Linked DNA regions of Homo sapiens: regions 1, 3 and 4 are each linked to region 2. The links are contacts of gene promoters, found by promoter capture Hi-C in human tissues and cell types (Jung and others, 2019). All regions are on one chromosome and are shown on one strand. Each heading gives the region's core, a stretch centred on a gene start or on the middle of the fragment in contact. The rest is flanking DNA. Distances are from core to core; before and after follow the strand shown. Region 1 overlaps ASTN2 (astrotactin 2). Region 2 holds the start of ASTN2 (astrotactin 2). Region 3 overlaps ASTN2 (astrotactin 2). Region 4 overlaps ASTN2 (astrotactin 2).

Region 1 (5,072 bases), core at 2,170-4,669, 520 kb before region 2:
CCTAATATGAGGACTGTCATATTTAGCAAATAAAAATAAAGGCACCCAATTAAATTTGGATTTTAAACAGCAAATTTCTTTTGGTATACACACTTCCCAAATAGTGCAATTATTAATTGCCTGCCTGAAATTCAAATTCAACTGGGTACTCAATATTTTATCTGGCAATTCTATCCCATGGCCGATGGCACTTACACCCCTTCTCCATTCTCCGGTACTCCCAAACTCCCAACACCTAAAATAATTTATCACACTTATTATTTATTTTCTGATTCTTCCCATTAGAATGTAAATTACACAAGAGCATGAGTTTTTATCTGTTTTACTCATTGAAGTGTTGCCAAAATCTACTAAAGGTGTATCACACACACACACACACACACACACACACACACACTTTAGAATCTTACTATACATATACCTTCATATTCTTCTTTTTCCTTAATCTTACTCCAAGGACATTTCAGGACACTTTTTTGTTTCTTTCAAACACATTATTTTCATGGCTATTTTGAAGTTGCCCAATTAAATGATCCAATCCCCTATTAGAGAACATTTGGTTGTTGGAAGTTTTTCTCCATTATAATTAGTGCCCTGATGGGAAGCTCAGCAGGACTGCAGGTGCCTAAGATTCTGCCCACTCTAAAGCAGGAGAGATCTAGGAGTAATTCTGGCTATACCCTCTTACTAGCTAGGTGACTTTGCACAGGTCACTGACTCTTCCAGCCTCAGTCCCCCAGTTGTAAACCGAGATGCTAGTAGAACCTGGCTCTACTTGGTATTGTTTGAACTCAATACGATGATGTGTCAGGGTTCCTGGTAGGTGCCTGCATGGAGTGAGCACTCACCAAGACATGCAGTTATTATTAGTATCATTCCCTACCTCAACACCTCTCCCTCCCTCTCTCCTCTCTTCCCTCCTCACCTTAGTAATTATTTCCCTTTATGCAACAGGCCAAATCTATCCATTTCCAAGCCACCATACTTCCTGCTTCTTAGGTCCATAATTGCTTTCTCTATCCCAAGCCCACTGCCAGGTTAACTCCTGCTGATTTAGGGATACCAAGAGAGATCAGCCTTTGAAGCTTTTCTGAACACTCAACGTCTGCCCCCAGGCCCACGCTTGGTCAGAACCCTGCTTGAGCATCCACATTTTTCCCATTAGCACACTGACTACCTCGCCACACAATGGCCTGGGTGTTTGCTTTTCACTTCATTTGAGTGAGCATCTGCAGAAAAGCAATGACTAGCCTTCCCTACTTCCATTCTAGGACTGACTGAGAGCCTTCTTAGTGTCCTGCCCTGCACAAGCACAGGTTAGAGGGAGAATCCACTACCAAAAAAATCCCAGACATTTACTTGCCAGTTCCTAGATCAAAAACATGTGGGCCTCCTTTCTGCCCCTGAACCCAGAGTTTAGTTGGGCATTATTCTTGTTCTTCAAAGGAAGTGGTAGGTAGGGACAGGGTGGATGGTAATTGATATTTCATGGTGACTGAAAGACTTGTAAGTACCTATTTAAAAAAAAGTCAATGACTCCATTACAATTTAAAAGAAAAGGAGAAAAATAGCCAAATGACAGTTATCACATAAAGATAGGAGCCAGTACCCCACTATGAGTTTGACCAGCATGATTTGTAATTCTGAGAAAATCCTGATGATAGATAAAATATTACCATTGTTCTAATTTTATTTGTTTATTTAGTTATTGAGACAGGGTCTCACTCTATCACCCAGGCTGGAGTACAGTTGCATAAACATGGCTCACTGCAACTTTGACCTCCCAGGCTCAAGCGATCCTCCTGCCTCAACCTCCCAAGTTGCTGGGACTACGGGTGGGTGCCACCATGCCTGGGCTGGCCTCCTGGGATCCTGGGCTCAAGTGATTCTTCTGCCTTGGCCTCCTAAAGTGCTATGATTACAGACGAGAGCCACCGATGCCCAGCCTATTCTCATGTTGTAGGTCAGTAAAGAAGTTCAGAGAGGGTAGGTTATTTGCGCAATGTCTCATTTAATCAGGGGAGGAGATGGGATTAGAATTCAAGGTCTTCCTGACACCCAAACCTCTGCAAACAGTATGAATTTAAGGCTCCACAATAGATACTATGATGTAGAAGCAACTGATTTTCCAAAAGGTTCTTGGGTTATTTATTTATTGCAAAGGCATTTTACCTCCCTGCACATTTATGTAAGTGGTCCCATGAGTTGGTAGAATTCTCTGAAAACCAATACATTCTGAAAGCAAGCTTAATACATTTATTTGTACAGATTGAGCATCCCTAATCCAATAATCTGAAATTTGAAATGCTCCAAAATTGGAAACTTTTTGAGTGCGACATGACACCTCAGGTGGAAAATTCCATACCTTTTCTTTCTGCCGGTTCAATGTACACACACTTTATTTAATGCACAGGATTGTTAAAACTATTGTATACAATTCCCTTCAGGCTATATGCATAAGGTGTATATGAAACATATGAATTTCATGTTTAGACTTGGGTCCCATCTCCAGGATATTTCTTTATGTCTATGCAAATATTCCAAAATCTGAAAAAGTCAGAAATCTGAAACACTTCTCTAGTCCCAAGCATTTCAGATAAGGGGATACTCAACTTGTACTTAGTAAGCACCAGGGGTCAAGTCTTTGCTAGGAGACCAAAGGGATGCTCTGTATCTATTCATAAGAGGGTGGAAGTGGAAGCGGTCATGGTTTTGGCACAGGGGCAAAGGATGTGAGTTAGAACTGGATCCTGGAAGGCTTTCTGAAAGGAGTTTGGTAGTAGTATCCTATCAAGGTCTTAGTAATCTGGGCATAGTTTCTGCAGAATCAAATTCTCCTATATTCAACAGGACAGCAAATGAAGACTGTATTGATTTTCTGCTTAGATCAATAAATAAGATAAATTGACCAGAAGGGCTAAATACTGATCAGGGTGAACTGAACATCAACATTTACTAAGAGCAGAGGGAGGAGAAACATAAATATCAGAAAAATGGAGATGCCAATAGAGCACTGGGGCAGTGGCTCAGTTTCCAGTTAAAATGTGTGTGTAAGGATTATTATTTTAGTCATGTCTTTACATAAAAAAAGGGAGTGGAATTAGGTTATTACAATAAAACTTCATTTAGTCAGACTGTGAGAAGACCAATTGATTTTTAAAAAACAATAAATGCCATTGAATTTAAATGCATGGATATGATATGGCAAGACAAACAAATAAACAAATAGTCAGAAGACCTGAGTCATTAAGTGTCCTTGTTAAGTGCAGAAAATCACATATTATTCATAAGTGTATTCTATTTGCCAAGCACAGAACCTGGAATATAGATGAAATCTTGGATTGAGTTCTATGAGAGCTGACCCAGAGCTAAGGAATGTGGTAATAGTAGTTGATTTGGGAGGTGATTCCAGGAAGCAAGTGAGGGACTGAGAATTGAGCCAAGGAATGGAGGAAAGCAAACAAGGGTGTATGTATTAGTTCATTTTCATACTACTATAAAGAAATACCTGAGGCTAGGTAATTTATTTTTTAAATTTTTATTTTGATTTTTTTATGAGATGGAGTTTCCCTCTTGTTGCCCAGGCTGGAGTGCAATGGCATTATCTTGGCCTACTCCGCCTCCCAGGTTCAAGCAATCCTCCTGCCTCAGCCTCCAGAGTAGCTGGGATTACAGGTGCCTGGCTAATTTTATGTGTTTTTAGTAGAGACAGGGTTTCACCATGTTGGCCAGGATGGTCTCAAACTCTTGACCTCAGGTGATCCGCCTGCCTCAGCCTCCCAAAGTGCTGGGATTACAGGCATGAGCTGCCGTGCCCCTCCTAGACTGGGTAATTTATTAAAAAAGAGGTTTAATTGACTCACAGTTCCACATGGCTGGGGAGGTCTTGGGAAACTTACAATCATGGCAGAAGGGGAAGCAGGGACGTCTCACATGGTGGCAGGTAAGAGAAGAGGGCAGGGAAAACTGCCATTTATAAGACCATTAGATCTCATGAGAACTCACTCATTTACCATCATGAGAACAGCATGGGGACACCATCCCAGTGATCCAATCACCTTCCTCCCTTGACACATGTGGATTACAATTCGAGATGAGATTTGCGTGGGGACACAGAGCCAAACCATATCAGTGTGTTAATGAGGGGGCTACCAGGTGGGCAACAAGAACTCGATCTCGTTATGGTCTCTCTGAGAGACTGGGTAAGATACAACCCTGAATCTTTCTGTGAAGGGGCAAGAAATGTGGCATATTTTTCTACCAACCTCCTGTTCATCTTTTGCTGTGGATTGTGCCTAAGGCCATCATCACTGCCCACCTGCTCCCAAAAAAATAACCTCAGGCAGACAGATTTAGGTGCAGCGCACTGAAGGTGCAGGTGACAGCTGTCAAGGACCAAATGTAGATGGGAAGGACACATGGCAAGTGGTAATACCAGGCGAAGGACTGCAAGATCAAGCTCTGTGCTCTGTGACGATTGTCAAGTCAATCTCCTCTCTGGGCAATCAGGGTCTAACTCTAAAAAGCGAGGCTTGAATCTTCACATTCCCTCCCAGACTGAGTGCCAGTAATTCTGAAAACCAGATGGTCAAACTCACAATCAAGGATTACAGGCCATTTAGGAAACTGCTTCTCACACAGATAAAAATGATACATGATGAGCATTCCACTTGTTAGCGTTTAACTGTGAGCTTTTCAAGTGCTTGAACATACACACAAAGATGTACATGCACTAAGTGATCACTGAGGCATTGTTTGTAGTAGCAAAAAACTGAAAACAACCTAAATACTCTTCAGTTAGGACATCGCTGAATAAAACTGGCATATTCATATGCCGGAATGTTCTCCTGCACTTAAAAGGAACGAACTGAATCTATATGTGTCACCATGAACAGAGTTCAAAAAATATTGCTGAGAGTAAAAAAAAAAATCAAGATGCAGAATGTTATATATAGTCTGACACCATTTAAAAAAAACAAGCACACATTACAGCATTCCTATGGGTAGGTTACATATCTGGAAAAGTATTTTTAAAGGACTGAAGTGACAACACAAACTCATTTAAAGTTATT
Region 2 (4,786 bases), core at 878-3,377:
GGGAAGAGCTACTGGTTTGTGTGTGTCTGTGTGTGTGTGCTTGGTGCGTCGCACCCCAGAAGCGCCGCCGCGGGGAGTCCCCGAGGAACCTGCAGGACGCTCCGCTGCCTCTCCTCCCGGAACGCTCGGCACGCTCAGGTTACAGCCTGCGAGGGTGGGTACAGGGGCTCGACCCCCGAGGTTCAAGCTCAGAGCGGGAGAACCACTGGCACTCGCTCAAATCCCCAGAGGTGGTAGCATGAAAGGATGGGGAGTGGGTCACAAAAATACTTTTAACAATATCAGGGCTACCAGGAGAGTGGAGCGTAGTCCGCTGATTATTCTGTGGGTCTTTTCAGGCGAGCAAGGAGTTAACCTCGGAAGTTCAGGGATCGTAAAGGTTCTCACCTGGAAGGCCCCTCACCTGCGGTGCCCGAGGCGGATCCCGCCGAGGAAAAGACCCGGGGAAGAAGAGCTCCGGGTCTGGGCGAGCCCCTGGCGCCTCACGGGCGCTGTTGTTGGCCAGACTCCGACAACCAATAAGGCCCCGCGCCCCCAAGAGGGGAGGGGAGAGCGAGCAAGCAGCGAGCGCGGGAGAGCTAAGGGGAACAACATTTTTGTAAACGCTCTCCGAGATAATTAAGCTATCAATTACCCGGGTGGGAAATCAGCTGCGCTTCCCACAGCTCCACTGAAGGGCCGACTCCTCCGGGATTCGCGCAGGGAACCAGCAGGCAGCAAGCTGCTGGCGAACTTTTCTGATTAACTTTTCCGTTGGAGCCCCCCACCCACACCCATCTCCTCTCCTCTCCTTTTTCTTGCCTTTAAGTAATTATTATTAGCCCAGGGAGTGAGCTGCAAGGACAAACCGGCTCTCTGCCTGGAGGTGGGTAGAAAGGGAAGGCGGTAACGGGGGTAGAGGGAGGCTCTAAACGTGGAGACCTCGGAGTCGGAATCCCAGTTCTCAGCAACCACTCAAGTCTCTCCAGCCCTATTTCACAGATGGCCAGAACTGAGGCTCAGAGAAGGGAAGCGACTTGGCCAAGGTCACTCAGCCCATGCGGAAGCCACGCTTTTGCGGGTTGAGCGATTCCACACGGAACTACTCCATTCCTACTCTCATGAAAATCCATCTGGAAGGGCAGAACCCGCAACTCCGAGGCGAGAGCGAGGGGGCGGTGACGGCGGGTGGCCAGTGACGGTACCCGGAGAAGTGGGAGGCTCGACCTGAAACTGGCTTAGGATCTGGGATGCTCCGGCCCCTAGCCAGAGCACCTTCAGTGAATGGGGTCTCCGGCTTCCGGGATGGATCAAGCAGAGCTCCAGGTCGGGACTGAGAGGCAGAGGGGCAGGTTCCCACTGCGGGAGGGTTGGCACGCCCCCAGGCTCCCGCCGCGCGCTCTCCAGGACCTCCTCCCACATGCTCGTTTCCAACCACCTGTGCGACCTCTGGGCCCCTCCTCTACCCTCTGCCAACCCCACTCGGGGCAGCCCCGGGCAGGGATCCCCAGGGCGCCCCCACCCGTCCGGCATGACGCAGGGGCTCGGGGTTCCTTGGGATCTAGCGCGTGCCGGCGCCCAGCCTTACCCAGGGTGAAGAAGGGCAGCTCGGTGTTGTCCAGGTCGTCCTGCACCGCGATGCGCCCCGGCAGCTCGTTACGCACAAAGAGCAGGAGGCGCGACTCGGCGGCGGTGCCGGCAGAGCCAGGAGAGCCCGGGGACGCGGCGGCGGCGGCGGCTCCGGCCCCGGTCCCAGCCCCGGCCCCGGCGCGGGCGCCGCTCCAGCCGATGTCGCTCTCCCGCAGGGCGGGCAGTGTGGACACCGTGACGGTCTTCAGCCGGCACGGGCTGTCGGGCTCCCGCGAGGCAGCGGCGGTGGCGCCGGCCAGCAGCGGCGGCGGCGGCAGCAGGAGCAGGAACAGCAGCAGCAGCGGCAGCAGTGGCGGCGGCCCCGGGTGGAAGCAGAGCCTCGGCCGCCCCCGGAGCCCCGAGCCGGGGCCGGGGCTGAGCCGGGCGCCGGCGGCGGCCATGGCGGGAGGGGCTGCGGTGCTGCGGGCGGCGGCGGCGGTGGCGGCGGTGGCGAAGGAGGAAGAGGAGGCAGCTGCGGAGACGGCGGACGCCGAAGCGAACCAGGACGCCCGAGCTAAGGAGCGGAGAGAGCCGCTCGCCAGCAGCCCCCAGCTCCGGGCTCCGCCTCCCGATCGGCCCTGGACCGCCCCCCCGCGCCGCCTCCCGGGGCCCAGCCGCCCGTCCCCGATCTCCGGCTCCCCCCGCAGACCCCGAGCGTTTCGGAGGCTCCGCCCGGCCTCGTGCAAGTCCCAGTGGCTCCCTCCCCTTTCCCAAGATCCCCCAATTCCGCCCTCACAGCATTCTTTAGCCACAACACCCCTCCCTAAACTCCCCAAATTCCTAATACTTAGGGCCCCCTCGGGCCCCCCCAAGCCCCCCTGACTCAACCCAGTTCTCCTGGCTTCACCCCACCTTCGGCTCAACCCAGAGGCTGCACCTGGGGGCGCGCCTTGGCCCAGCCTTGCTCAAGGCCCCGCCTTCTTGGGGATAGGGAGCCCCCTGGATAGCCAAGACTTAACTTTGTCTCCCCTCAGGCCCAAGAACAAGTCCTTTCTCCAATCTCCTACCCTTTTCTAGTCTCTGAAATAACTTCCTGTAGCCTCAGAGCCCCCTTCCCACCCACTTGGCCACAACTCCTGCATTCATTCTCCCACTGCCCGCAAACCTTCCTCTCCCCTCCATCCAGGCCTTGTGCTAGCACTAATTGCTAATGGACAGAGGGGCGTCGAACTCCACCGTCTAACGCCGACCCCACAACTGACTGAAGCCGGGCTGTTCTGGCCCCCTAGCTGCCGCCCTGCAAGCCAGCCCACTCACGCTTTTTTATTTTGGATCCCTGCTCCCAGCTTGGAGCAGCTCTACTTGGCTGCTTCTGCTCTCTGTGTGAAATTCCTGAAAAGGGTGTGAGGTAGAGACCTACTATTCTGTCTGTCCTTGGCTCCCGGGTCTTTTAGATCCTCTGCCCAAGTCCCAGAGAACGGGAGTGCTCACCAATTCTTCACCTGCAGTCTTTCTAGACTCAAGTTGAGCTAGGTCCTCAGATTCAGCACCCTTTGGTCTTGGGCTGACTCTGTCTCTGACCCACATACCTGAGACCCTCCAGGGAGCGGACACCTCTGCATGGGTCAAGTGCCGTGCAGCCCCTTCCCCACTCCCCTACTTTTCTTCATCTTCCCTGTCTCTGTTTTCTGTTTCATCTCTCCATTCATTTCCTTCCTTCTCATCTTGACTTTAATCTTACAAATGCTTCTTTCCTATAATTTGTGAGCAACTTCTCATCTCTGTCTAGCTTACCCATCTGCACCTTTTGTGCTGTCTCTATGCATTCACTTTTCTCTTAGCTCTTCCCTCTTCTGTCTCATTCCCCTTTTCTATCTTTAACCCTTCATATAAATTGCTTTTCTCCTCTCTCATCATATATTTTTTAATAACGTTGGATAAAGGCAGAGCACTGAAAATAAGGAAAAAAGCAAAAGCTGTTTTGCGACCTTGGACTTAATGTGTTTAAAGCATTCTCCAAATGCTAGACATGTACGTATGTTAGCTTTTTTACATGACCATAATCCAAAAAGATGGATATTATGATTCCCATTTTCCATGTGAGGAAACTGAGATCAGGTGGTCAGGGAGGTGAAGGGATTTTCCAAGGTCGTATAGCAAATGAGCTGAAGAGCTGAGGTTTGAACAGTAGGCTTCAAGCCTTGACTGTTTCCCTTAAATTACACTGTCCTCAGTGACCTTGGAAAACCCCACCCATCAAAGATGCTGTAAAAGGTAAATCTGCATAAGCACAGTTGGATCTACTTCCCTGTGAGGTTTGTAAGGTATACTTCTCCTGTCTCAGTTTACTAATCTGTGAACCCAAAGGATGTGTGGAGGTTGGGGTGGAATCTGGCCTTTCAAGTCCTCTAATTCTAAATGGTCTCCTGCCTCTCTGATGCCTGCTCTAGTTCATTTACTCCTCCAAAATATGTCACCCTGCCTCCCTCAGTCTCTCCTTTGTGTCCTTACAATCCGCCACTATCCACCGCAATGGGGCTTTCTGATTCTCTATGCCCCTTTCTTCAAATATGCTGACATAGTCCATTTACAGAAGAGCACACCAGGAAAAAAGGGCTCCCTTATGTAAGGCAGAGTCTGTGCAAGTCCTTCATGGACCTCTAGTACAAAGGCCTGTCAAATGAGACCAACACTTTCATTCATTCATTCATTCATCACCAAATATTCAGGGTGCCTACCAGGTGCTATATGGAGATGCAGGGATGGATAAACACAACTCCTGCCTTTGGAAAGCTTATAATGATTGGGGTGAGGGGGTGGGATGCCGGAAAGAGACAGGCACATAAATATCTCAGGTAATGGGCAGGCAGGCAGACATGTGTTTCCTAAGATGAGGTACTTGGAGAAATCAAAGAAAGCTTCCCAGAGGCGGTGGCTTTGGAATTGAACCATAAAGATTAGTAACAAGGGAGTGGGCATTCTAGGTTAAAGTTGGCATTTGGCATTCTTTGCAACTGCTTAGTAAATGAATAAATCCCTTTCCTACATCAGAGAATGTTTTATCTTTTAAGGCACAGCCCACCTCCCATGAAGAAGCTAACATTTCTGGATACTTTCTCAGCCTCCACTGCAGCTAGAGCTTGGGCACATGACCCAGGCTTCACCAGTTAGATTCACCCACCCCAGATGCTGAAAAATAAGCCGGAATCAGGCAGAATCCAGTGGCGGCTAAAAGGGC
Region 3 (5,015 bases), core at 646-3,145, 630 kb before region 2:
TGTTTTCATGGCATTCTCCCATTCCCCTATTGTCCCCACCTTTGAGTCCCTCAGCCTAGCACTGTGATATGAATGGAGCAGAATGTGTGACCAACCAAGTGTTAAAAGAGGAGAGAGGCTGTGTTGGGGGGCTCATGCCTGTAATCCCAGCACTTTGGGAAGTTGAGGTGGGTGAATCACCTGAAGTTGGGAGTTCGAGACCAGCCTGACCAACATGGAGAAACCCTGTCTCTACTGAAAATACAAAAGTAGACAGGCGTGGTGCCGCATGCCTGTGATCCCAGTTACTCGGGAGGCTGAAGCAGGAGAATCACTTGAACCAGGGAGGTGGAGGTTGCGGTGAGCTGAGATTGCACCATTGCACTCCAGCCTGGGCAACAAGAGTGAAACTCCGCCTCAAAAAAAAAAAAAAAAAAAAATAAGAGGAGCAAGAAATGGATATTTGAATATGGATTTGGAGCCAGACTGTCTGGATTCCAATCCTGTCTCCATCCTTTACCAGCCAAATGACAATGAGAAAATTATTCAGTCTCTTAACAATTCAGTGTCATCATCTGTTAAAAAATAAGGGAGGGGAAAAGGTTGACAGCTCCTCTAGGTGTCTGTAGAACTGAATGCGTTTGGACAGTGAAGCTGCTGCCTGGGTCTCTTCTTGTGTCACTGGGAGCTCATCCTCAGTCTCCTTTGCTGGTGGCTCTTCACCTCTCCGATGTTAAACTGCAGGACTCAGGGCTCAGGCTCCTCTCTTCTCTATCTACTCCCTAGTGAGTTTGTGTCCTCTCATTTCTTTTCTGTCATCTACATGCTAAATAATCTGAAATGTACATTTCAAGTCATGTTTCTCTTCTGAACTGGTATATCCTACTGGCTTCCTGACATCACCATAAGAATATATATTAGACATGGCCAGATGATGGCTATTGACGCCGGATGATGAGTGCCTGGGGTTCCATCACACTATGGTCTACTTGTATAAATGATTGCAATGTTTCACAATCAAGTTCATCTTTTAACATTATCAAAAACAAATTTCTCTTTCTATTCCCCTCCCTTGTGCCTGCTCCTCCTGTGGGCTTTCCTGTCTCCATCAATGGCACATCCGTCTGTCCAACTGCTCAGGCAAAATTCAGGGCACTAACCTTGCCTCCCTCCTTTCTCTCCCTCATCAGTAAATCTAGTTGTCCCACCTTCAGAATACATACAGAATCTGCCCACCTCTCTCCATGCTGACTTGTCTGAACATGCTCCAATCCACAGTCGTCTGACATCTGGACCACAGAAGTAGCCTGGGAACTGCTTTCCCTGATTTCACCCTGCCCACTAACGTCTATTCTTCACACCCCAGTCAGATTATAGACCTTTTCTGCTCAAATAATGCACTAGCTTGGTTTCCTTCTCACTCAGAGTAAAATTCAAGCTACTGCATTTAGGAGTCCCACAGGACCCTATACAAAATGGCCCATACTTCCCCAGTTGGTACCCATTGCCTCTTTATTTGTAACCTTTTTTCCTACTACTTGCCCCGCCTCCTTCCCCTCTGTTCTATCCACCGAGGCTCCTTTTGGTCCACAGAAAATGCCAAGGGTCTTTGAACTCGGTGTGCCTTCTACCTGGAAGCTGTTCCCCAGATATGTGCATAGTTCACTGCCTTGTTTCAGATCTTTATACAAACGTCACCTTGTCAAGTAAGTCTTCCAGCCTGTAAAACATAGAATCCCCTGCCTAAAACCCTCTAGTACCCTTAACTCAACCTGCTTTTCTCCACAGTGTATGTACCTGACAGGGTGTATATTTATTTGTTGATTGTCCCCTACACTAGAATATAAACCTTCAGAGCAGGGGTTTTTATATATTTTGTTCACTATTGTCTTCCTGGTTTCCTAGAACAGTCAGTGTCATAGAATAAGTGCTCAAAAAATATTTTTGATAGAGTGAAGATACAATAGTGTCTGGTGCAGTGTGTCATTGTTATCTGGTTACTCTTATTACTACAATCACTACTGTTACTTGTTACTCTTGTTACTACAATCACTACTACCTAAATACTGGAGAGATACCCAAGAAACTAATAAAAATGGGGGATAGGGGAAAAGGATAGAAAAAAAACTGAGAAAGGAGTGACATTCCTCATTGAATGTCTTTTATACTGTTTGTGTTTTTAAACTTTGTAACTTTAATGCCTGTAAAGAAATCAGTTTAAAAATATGCTGATATGGTTTGGCTGTGTCCCCACTGAAATCTCATCTTGAATTGTGGTTCCCATTATCTCCATGGGTCCTGGGAGAGACCAGGTGAAGATAATTGAGTCATGGGTCCTGGGAGAGACCAGGTGAAGATAATTGAGTCATGGGGGCCATTTCCCCCATCCTGTTCTCATAATAGTCAGTCAGTTCTAAAGAGAGCTGGTGGTTTTAAAAGGGGCTTCCCCTTTCACTGGACACTCATTCTCTTTCCTGCTGCCCTGTGAAGACGTAGCTTCCGCCATGACTGTAAGTTTCTTAAGGCCTCCCCAGCCATGGGGAACTGTGAGTCCATTAAACCTCTTTCCTTTACAAAATACCCAGTCTTGGGTATGTCCTTACAGTAGCATGAGAATGAACTAATACATATGCCTACCAAACTGTCGCAGCCAAGCGGAGCTAAGGAGATGGACAACTCAGTGTGAGATGGTGACCAAGATGCTCTTAAGCTTCCCATCAGCTTGACTAAACACCAGGCAGGCTTCTCCAGTCTCTAGATCCCTGACCTGCCTTTTCTTAAAGCATTTACTTTAGAAACTTGCAATTGTAAATTCTTTCTCTGCCCCTTTAAGACATAAATCTTTTATAAAGTTTCTTGCCAGTTTTACAATCTAGGACTGTCTTTCTCAAGGACGTGGGAGCTATTTCTTTGAAATGTAATCATCAAGGAAGACAGTACCCCTATCTCTTAGTCTTTGTGGAAGGGTGGAAGCCCAACTTCCATGGACACCAATTAGCAAACACAGATGGCCTAATCACAGAGAAATACATTTGCAAAGTCAAGAATAACTCAATGTGCTGGACATATCCTATTGTTCAATCTCCTAATGTCCTCCAGTACTTTTCCACTTACTCCAGCAATTAAAAACCCTCCTGTCCTTTTCAGTTTCAGTGAAATTGAGTTCAGACCTCTCTCCTTCCTCTATTGCAATAGCCTTGAATAAAGTCTTTCTTGCCTGTTTAACATCATCCAGTGTCATTTTGCTTTGATGTCTGTATGCTGAATGGGCTCCTGTATCAGAAAAAGGACATCAGATAAAAACTAAGGAAATCTGAATAAAGTATGAACTTTAGGTAATAATAATGTATCAATATTGATTTATTAATTATAACAAATGTACCATAAAAATATAAGAGGATGCTATGGGAAACTGATTGCAGGGTATATGGAAACTCTCTGTACTATCTTTGTGGTTTATCTATAAATCTAAAACTGTTTAAAATAAAAAAATATATTTTTAAAATCCTATCTGAACCTGGAGGACATCATGCTAAGTGAAATAAGCCAAACACAGAAAGACAAATACTGCATGTTCTCACTTGTATGTGGAATCTAAAAAGTCAAACTCGTATTAGAGAGTAGAATGGTGGTTATCAGAGGCAGGGGGTGGGAAGAAGATGAGGAATTGCGGGGAGATGAAGAATAGGGAGAGATTGGTCAAAGGGTACAATGTTTCGATTAGACAGGAGGAGCAAGTTTTAGTCCATTGCTCAGTGTGGTGACCATCGTTAATAATGGATTATATATTTCAAAAATTTGCTTTGAAAAGTTTTTTAATATTCTCATCACAAAAAGTATGTGAGATGATGAACATGTTTATTAGCTTGATTTAATCATTCCACAGTGAGCACATATGTCAAAACATCACATTCTATCTCATAAATATATAGAAGTAGTATTTGTACATTAAAATATATATTAAAAATAACCCTATCTGAGTGGAATACGGAAAAGAACATCCAAGTGTCAGAAAGATCCAGTAAGTAAGGCTCTGACACCAGCTATGTGATGACAGTCAAGTCATCAGATCTCTTTGAGACCCAGTTACCTCATTTATAAAATGACACTTGCAAATCCACTAACATCATGCATTCTCAGTAGTCGCAGAAATTGTCTTAGACAATACAATGGCTTGTGGTCCTCCAATGTCTAACTCTACCCAATAAAACTGTGACCCTTAGTATTTAATTTCTCTCATTAAGAAGAATTCAATCCTATTTTTTTTCTATGACAAGGGGTGACAGTAAAAAACAAGTTTGAACACAGCCTTAGATAATACAAAAAATAAAAAAGTATATTACTTTCCCTTTACACCAACATTAGACCGAGTTTTGTTCAGCCTGAATCCCCAGAACCTGTCACATAATAAGCTCTTGATGTGTACTGATTGGCTGGAGCACAAAGCTGAAGCAAATTTAATTGCAATTTAGCTTAATTCTCAAGCTGTGTTTCCACCTTCTTTGCAAATACAGCTGCAAAATGCCTATATGGTCTCTGGGCTTGTTTATTCCCAGTGGCTGGGTCCTCACTAACTCCTAAGAAGTAGGGAATTAATCGAAACTTACAGGGATATCCTTTAGAGCAACTTTAGTTCTCTGAACCACGGCATGACAAGTAAGAACAATCACTTCATCGTCTTTCTTTCCTCCTACACTAGAAAGCATCAAAAAGAAAGGGAAGCAGCCTCAAGGTCACTGGGAACTCAGTAAAGAATGAAGAGGCTGACTCAGGGTTTAAGGTTCTTTCAAAGTCCTCAGGCATACAATGAATTAACCAGCCCTGGGCTACTCAAATGCCTGTAGCTTTGACTCCTGGCTTGTGCCTGCTAATTAACTGTCCACTTAATGGGCTCCTCTGAGGATCTCAGGCAACATAAAAAAATAAATGCTCATTTTGGACTCTTAAAAGCCACCTTTGAGGTGTTCCACTAGATTATCATTAATAGTAATTATTCAGTAGTGATGTTACATAAAACCCCAGCCACTGCCCTTGGA
Region 4 (5,298 bases), core at 1,288-3,787, 610 kb before region 2:
AATCCAGGGTTGAGAAGTTGGAAACAATTAGCAGAGTATTTGAGGCAGAACAATGACTTCTAATGGACCTAAAATTGTGTCTGGGACTGGACAGTCAGTCCTAGGCCAGCCTTTAAGGGGCCATGTTCTTTCTTTCTTTCTTTTTTTTTTTTTTTTTTTTTTTGACATGGAGTCTTGCTCTGTCTCCCAGGCTGGAGTGCAGTACCACTATAGGCTCACTGCAAGCTCCGCCTCCCGGGTTTACGCCCTTCTCCTGCCTCAGCCTCCTAAGTAGCTGGGACAACAGGCAGCCGCCACCACGCCCGGCTAATTTTTTGTATTTTTAGTAGAGACAGCATTTCATCATGTTAGCCAGGATGGTCTCAATCTCCTGACCTCATGATCTGCCCGCCTCAGCCTCCCAAAGTGCTGGGATGACAGGCATGAGCCACCACAACCAGCGGTGCCATGCTCTTTCTCACTGACGAGTCTGTTGGCCGTGGGAAGATAAGCACTCCAAGCAGTCAGGAGAACTGAGAACGTGGGCTGGTCCCACAATGACTTGCTTTGTGACCAAGTCCTTTCCCTGCATGTAAAATGAGATCCCAGGATTTAATGAAGTTTGTTCAGGATCTAGCCTCTTACTACCCATGTGGATCCTTCTTTTGGACCAAGCTATCCTTCACACAACAGAATGGTACATTGGCTCAATTATCAAATGCCAGCCACTCTGAGAGCTGCTGTGAGAAATGAAACTCCATAAAACATACAATGTACCTATGGAAATGGCTGGCTTCTGTTAAAAGCACCCCATTTTAAAGATGAAGCAGTAGAATTATGCTTCTCATGGGTGGGGCTGGGATTTGAAGGCATGTTCATTGGCAGTCTGTTTTCTTGACTCCCACCCTTGCTTATCCATATGTCTGGGCCTTTGCAGGCTCCTTCCTGGACAGGAAAATGCCCTTTAACTCTTATCTGTCCCAAGAGGCACTATTCTTTGCTATCACTTCAAACCTCAGTTCACAAACTTTGTCCTTTGAGAAGCCCTTTATCTTTCCTTCTAATTCCTTTCAACAGGCTTCCATGGGAACTCTTTGGAAACCATCGTCTTTCCTTGGAACACTGCTTTGCAAATTAAATTTTTCTATTTTTTTAAAACTTGTGTGTGTCATCTTGCAAGCTTTTAAATTTCTTCCTCAAAGAGAAGGAATAATTCCTTTATTTTTTTATTTTGTATTCCAAGCAACATTATTCTATCCATGATGTTGCTCAAGACACACTTTCATAGACCATTAAAATTATAGAAAACTAGTATTGTAGAATCTCAGCATTGAACTGCAATTCATCCAGACTATCCTTAAATTTTTCCCAGAGCTTTTCCTGATTTTTGTTCTTTTTTTTTTTTTAAATAGAGACAAGTGTTCACTCTGTTGCCCAGACTGGATTGCAGTGGCATGATCATAGCTCACTGTAACCTTGAATGGCCAGGCTCAAGTGATGGTCCTGCTTCAGCCTCCCAAGTAGCTGGGACTACAGACATGTACCACCAAGTTCGAATAATATATATATATATATATATATATATATATATATATATATATTTTTTTTTTTTTTTTTTTTTAGACGGAGTCTCACTCTGTCATCCAGGCTGGAGTGCAGTGGCGTAATCTCAGCTCACTGCAAGCTCCGCCTCCTGGGTTCATGCTATTCTCCTGCCTCAGCCTCCTGAGTAGCTGGGACTACAGGCGCCTGCCACTACGCCTGGCTATTTTTTTGTATTTTTAGTAGCGATGGGGTTTCATTGTGTTAGCCAGGATGGTCTCAATCTCCTTACCTCATGATCCGCCTGCCTCAGCCTCCCAAAGTGCTGGGATTACAGGTGTGAGCCACCACACCCAGCCCAGTTTAAAAAAAAAAAAAGTTAGCAGAGATGGAGTCTTGCAAAGTTACCTAGGCTGTTCTCAAACTCCTGGGCTCAAGTGATCCTCCCACCTAGGCCTCCCACAAGTGTTGGAATTACAGGTGTGAGCCACCATGCCTGGCTCGGAGCTTTTCCAGTAAAGTAGCATTCAGTCTCTGCTTGAGCAACTGAGTCATGGATCCACCTGCCAACGATACCTAAAGTGTCAGAGGGGCCATTTCTATCTCCTTTTCCATCTTATGCCCAATAACCAGCATGGTATATGAGAAAGAGGAGATTCTCAAAGAGTATATGATGATTACAAGGATGAACGGTTTTAGTGAATTCACATCTCCATTCTCATTCTGTAAAATGGGAGTAAGAGGGTATGCTGAATTGAAATACAAGAGCAAGGTTTTAGAGTCAGCTGGAGTTACATCTGATTCCTGACTCTACCTCTTACTAGATGATGATCTTGAGAAAGTCACTCAACCTCTCTGGATTAATTTCTCAATTGTAAAATGGAGGTCATAGTGCCTCCAGTGATTCTAATAATGAAGCTAAAATGAAATTATCTTGGCTCTCCTACTTCCTAGAAGGGAGTCTTTGGAAAGCTACTCTAGATTTCTCTTTCTCTTCTGTATAAAAAGGATGATAATGACTCCTGCCTCACAGGATCATTGTGAGGATTACATAAGTTAATAGACAAAAAATACTTAGAAAACCCTTTCGTGTATGCTGAATTAATGTTAGTGGACATTATTATTGTTAGTAGTTAGTAGTAAAGAACTTGACACAGAATAATTATTAATAAATGGTAACCATTTATTACCACTCATAATACAATTATCACTACTATTAGTAAGATGATGGAATGGAAACAATGATTATTATAATGGTGACTTATTACTAGTTCTGACTTTTATTGATATGACCTCAAATGATTAGGAGAGCCTTGCTTTGTGATAATATCTTTTTTTTTATGCAAACATGGTTAAAAGTATAATGTGTGTGTGTACGTGTGTGTGTGTGTGAGTGTGTGTTTAGATAATCCTTCTCCATACATACAACAAATCTCACTCTACTAGCTTATGGTTCTTCAAGCTTTGAGGCATAAGTAAGTCACCACTTAAAGTTTCTCTTCTTTAGGCAGAACAGTTTCAACTGTCCAAAAACCCTTTACCAATATCTTGCATCTTTAATCCTCACATAATCTGGCCAACCTAGCCGTCACTCACTATTGAGTGAAAAAAGCAATTTCTAAACAGCTTTACTGGGATTTGGGGAGTGTGTGTGTGTGTGTGTGTGTGTGTGTGTGTGTAGGCAGACAGGAAAAAACAGAGAGAGAAAGAGAGAAGTAGAAATTTTAAGAGCATTCAGGAAAATGTTAATTCTAGGTATTTCTGGGTGATGCGATTTTTATTTTCTACTACATTAAATGTCCTTATTTTTGAACTGCCTGAACAGCATGCATAAAATACTTATTTTTCAGTAGACTGAAAGATTAATTAATGTTTTTCAAAATGCCATTAACTGTACTTATATGATAATTTAAGATTGAATTTAAAATGTGGGGCTAGAACTAGGAAAATGGCAAAGTGGGACAAATATATGCTAGGACCATGAAAAAGAAACCTTATGGAATAAAGTTTGATGACTTTCCACACTCCTTAAGAGGGTACCTGTGAGCTTAAAGTGATGCTGGCCAGAATAACAGGTCTCTACCCCATTGTGCCCATGGCTTCCTCCCTGTGCCCAGGTTGTTTGTCAGTGACTCAGACAAGCAATGTGCAAGTATCTACAGCATACCTAAAGGTCATCTGGAAGACTTGGCCTTGGTTCACATGCTGGGTCCGGTTGTTGTAACCATGTAGCATCTCTCCAAAGAGGGTATCATTGAATTTGGAGTCAGGTTTGAGGCACTTGGGGCCCTCGCAGACATCTGAGAGCATTAAGCAGGATTTTCCATCAGGAGCCAGTTTGTACTCCTCCACGCAACTGTATGATAAAACAGAGCTCAGAATTAGCTTCACATCCTGAATGCCCCCATTGGGGGTGACCTAAAACCAAGGCCTCCTTTCCCTGCAAAACAGGTCAGAGTTTAGGAAGGAGACAGCTATTCTACCTGGAATCTATCTAGGGCACAGATGTCTAGAGAGAAGCACATTAATACTGCAAATTGGTAAATTCAAGGAAAGTCATTTGTGACATTTTGGAGGAGTCAAGGGGACACCAGCGTGCACGTTCACACACAAAGCAAATTTAAAGACTGTTTCCCATGAACATACAGACTTTAAAAAGCATGACATACCAATTCACAGGGAATCATCAACTAGTGTCTCAAACCAGAATCTATTCCCAGTACATCTGTCAACCAAGGTTGAAGACTGTAGCAAATACAAGGTTTTTATCATCCTGGTAGCTCAGAGGTGAAACCTTCCAGGACCATGGACAGCACAAGGCTTCTGTTCACTTAGGGATTTTAGCAGCCTCCGTTGGTCTAACAGCCAGAAAAGCCCTTGACAAGCCTTTGAGACAGGGGTGGCCTCATCTATGGACAAAACAGGCATCTGAATAAGGTGTGGAAACAATATTTGCAATTTGAAAAGATTTGCAGTGACAAATCTCAGAGAGGCATGGGCTGGAGGGGATGGGGATGGTTGGGGCAAGAAATCAGAGATCTCAGCCCCTGAAAAATCATTCCAGAAACTGGAATTCTATGAGTGTCTACCTTTTCAAAGTTCAGCGCTAAGCACTAGGAGTATGGTGCACATAAATAAGACAGACAAGAGAATGGTCTGTGAGATTGGACAGACCTGTACAAATGCCATTTTTCTCCTTGTGACCTATATGAACATGAGTGAGTCATTTAACTTCTATGATCCCCAGTTTCCTCATGTGTAAAATAGAGTAGACACTTCTACCTTAATTCAGTAGGATGCTATAAGGTCACATGATACATTGGCCACAAAAAAAACAGGAATTGCAATATACTTAACACAATAATCATAATAGTGGTAGTAATGGTGTTATTTCTATTTATTGAGCATGTACTATTCACTGAACACTTTATGTATTTATTATCTAACCATGAAGAAAGAAAGAGTAATATCATAATTTCTGCTTTACACATAAGCAAAATAAGGAGCCAAGAAATAAAGCATATAGTACTGTGAGTAAGTAGCAAAGTTGATATTCAAATTCAGTTCTGTTAGAAAAAGGGATGTTTGTCTATTTTTGTCTCCTCCAAATCTAGTGCTTTCTATGTGCACAAAATGACCCTGGTTGGTATGTCAGTTTGAGAAAGTAAACAGCAGGCAATCTCTTATTTGCCTTTTTTCAAAGGGTGTAGCAAAGATTCATTGAAGCTAACCGCAAAGGGACTCAGGAACTCAGATGGGAGAAGGAAGAGGCTCTGT

What was found. The method cuts DNA at HindIII sites, captures the fragments that hold promoters and counts their contacts. A contact is called where the count stands out against the background at its distance.
Region 1: a contact is called between a fragment that was not itself captured here and the fragment with the promoter of ASTN2 in region 2, in 2 of the 25 tissues and cell types used here (H1 embryonic stem cells and lymphoblastoid cells).
Region 3: a contact is called between a fragment that was not itself captured here and the fragment with the promoter of ASTN2 in region 2, in 3 of the 25 tissues and cell types used here (H1 embryonic stem cells, mesenchymal stem cells and neural progenitor cells).
Region 4: a contact is called between a fragment that was not itself captured here and the fragment with the promoter of ASTN2 in region 2, in 2 of the 25 tissues and cell types used here (dorsolateral prefrontal cortex and mesenchymal stem cells).

Annotation. Positions count from the first base shown.
Region 1 is chr9:116,892,798-116,897,869 of GRCh38, forward strand. All of the region lies in intron 10 of ASTN2 (astrotactin 2), which reads right to left. Among named protein-coding and RNA genes, the nearest start is that of TRIM32, 210 kb to the left of the region's middle. The HindIII fragment of the contact is 3,508 bases long and covers 1,666-5,072 here.
Region 2 is chr9:117,412,930-117,417,715 of GRCh38, forward strand. ASTN2 (astrotactin 2) reads right to left here and starts at 2,128. Exons shown (of 23, transcript NM_001365068.1): 1 at 1,568-2,128. The coding sequence starts at 2,009. The HindIII fragment of the contact is 9,596 bases long and covers 1-4,786 here.
Region 3 is chr9:116,784,532-116,789,546 of GRCh38, forward strand. All of the region lies in intron 13 of ASTN2 (astrotactin 2), which reads right to left. Among named protein-coding and RNA genes, the nearest start is that of TRIM32, 100 kb to the left of the region's middle. The HindIII fragment of the contact is 6,664 bases long and covers 1-5,015 here.
Region 4 is chr9:116,801,944-116,807,241 of GRCh38, forward strand. ASTN2 (astrotactin 2) reads right to left here. Exons shown (of 23, transcript NM_001365068.1): 13 at 3,689-3,877. Among named protein-coding and RNA genes, the nearest start is that of TRIM32, 120 kb to the left of the region's middle. RefSeq lists an enhancer at 1-300. The HindIII fragment of the contact is 5,964 bases long and covers 1-5,298 here.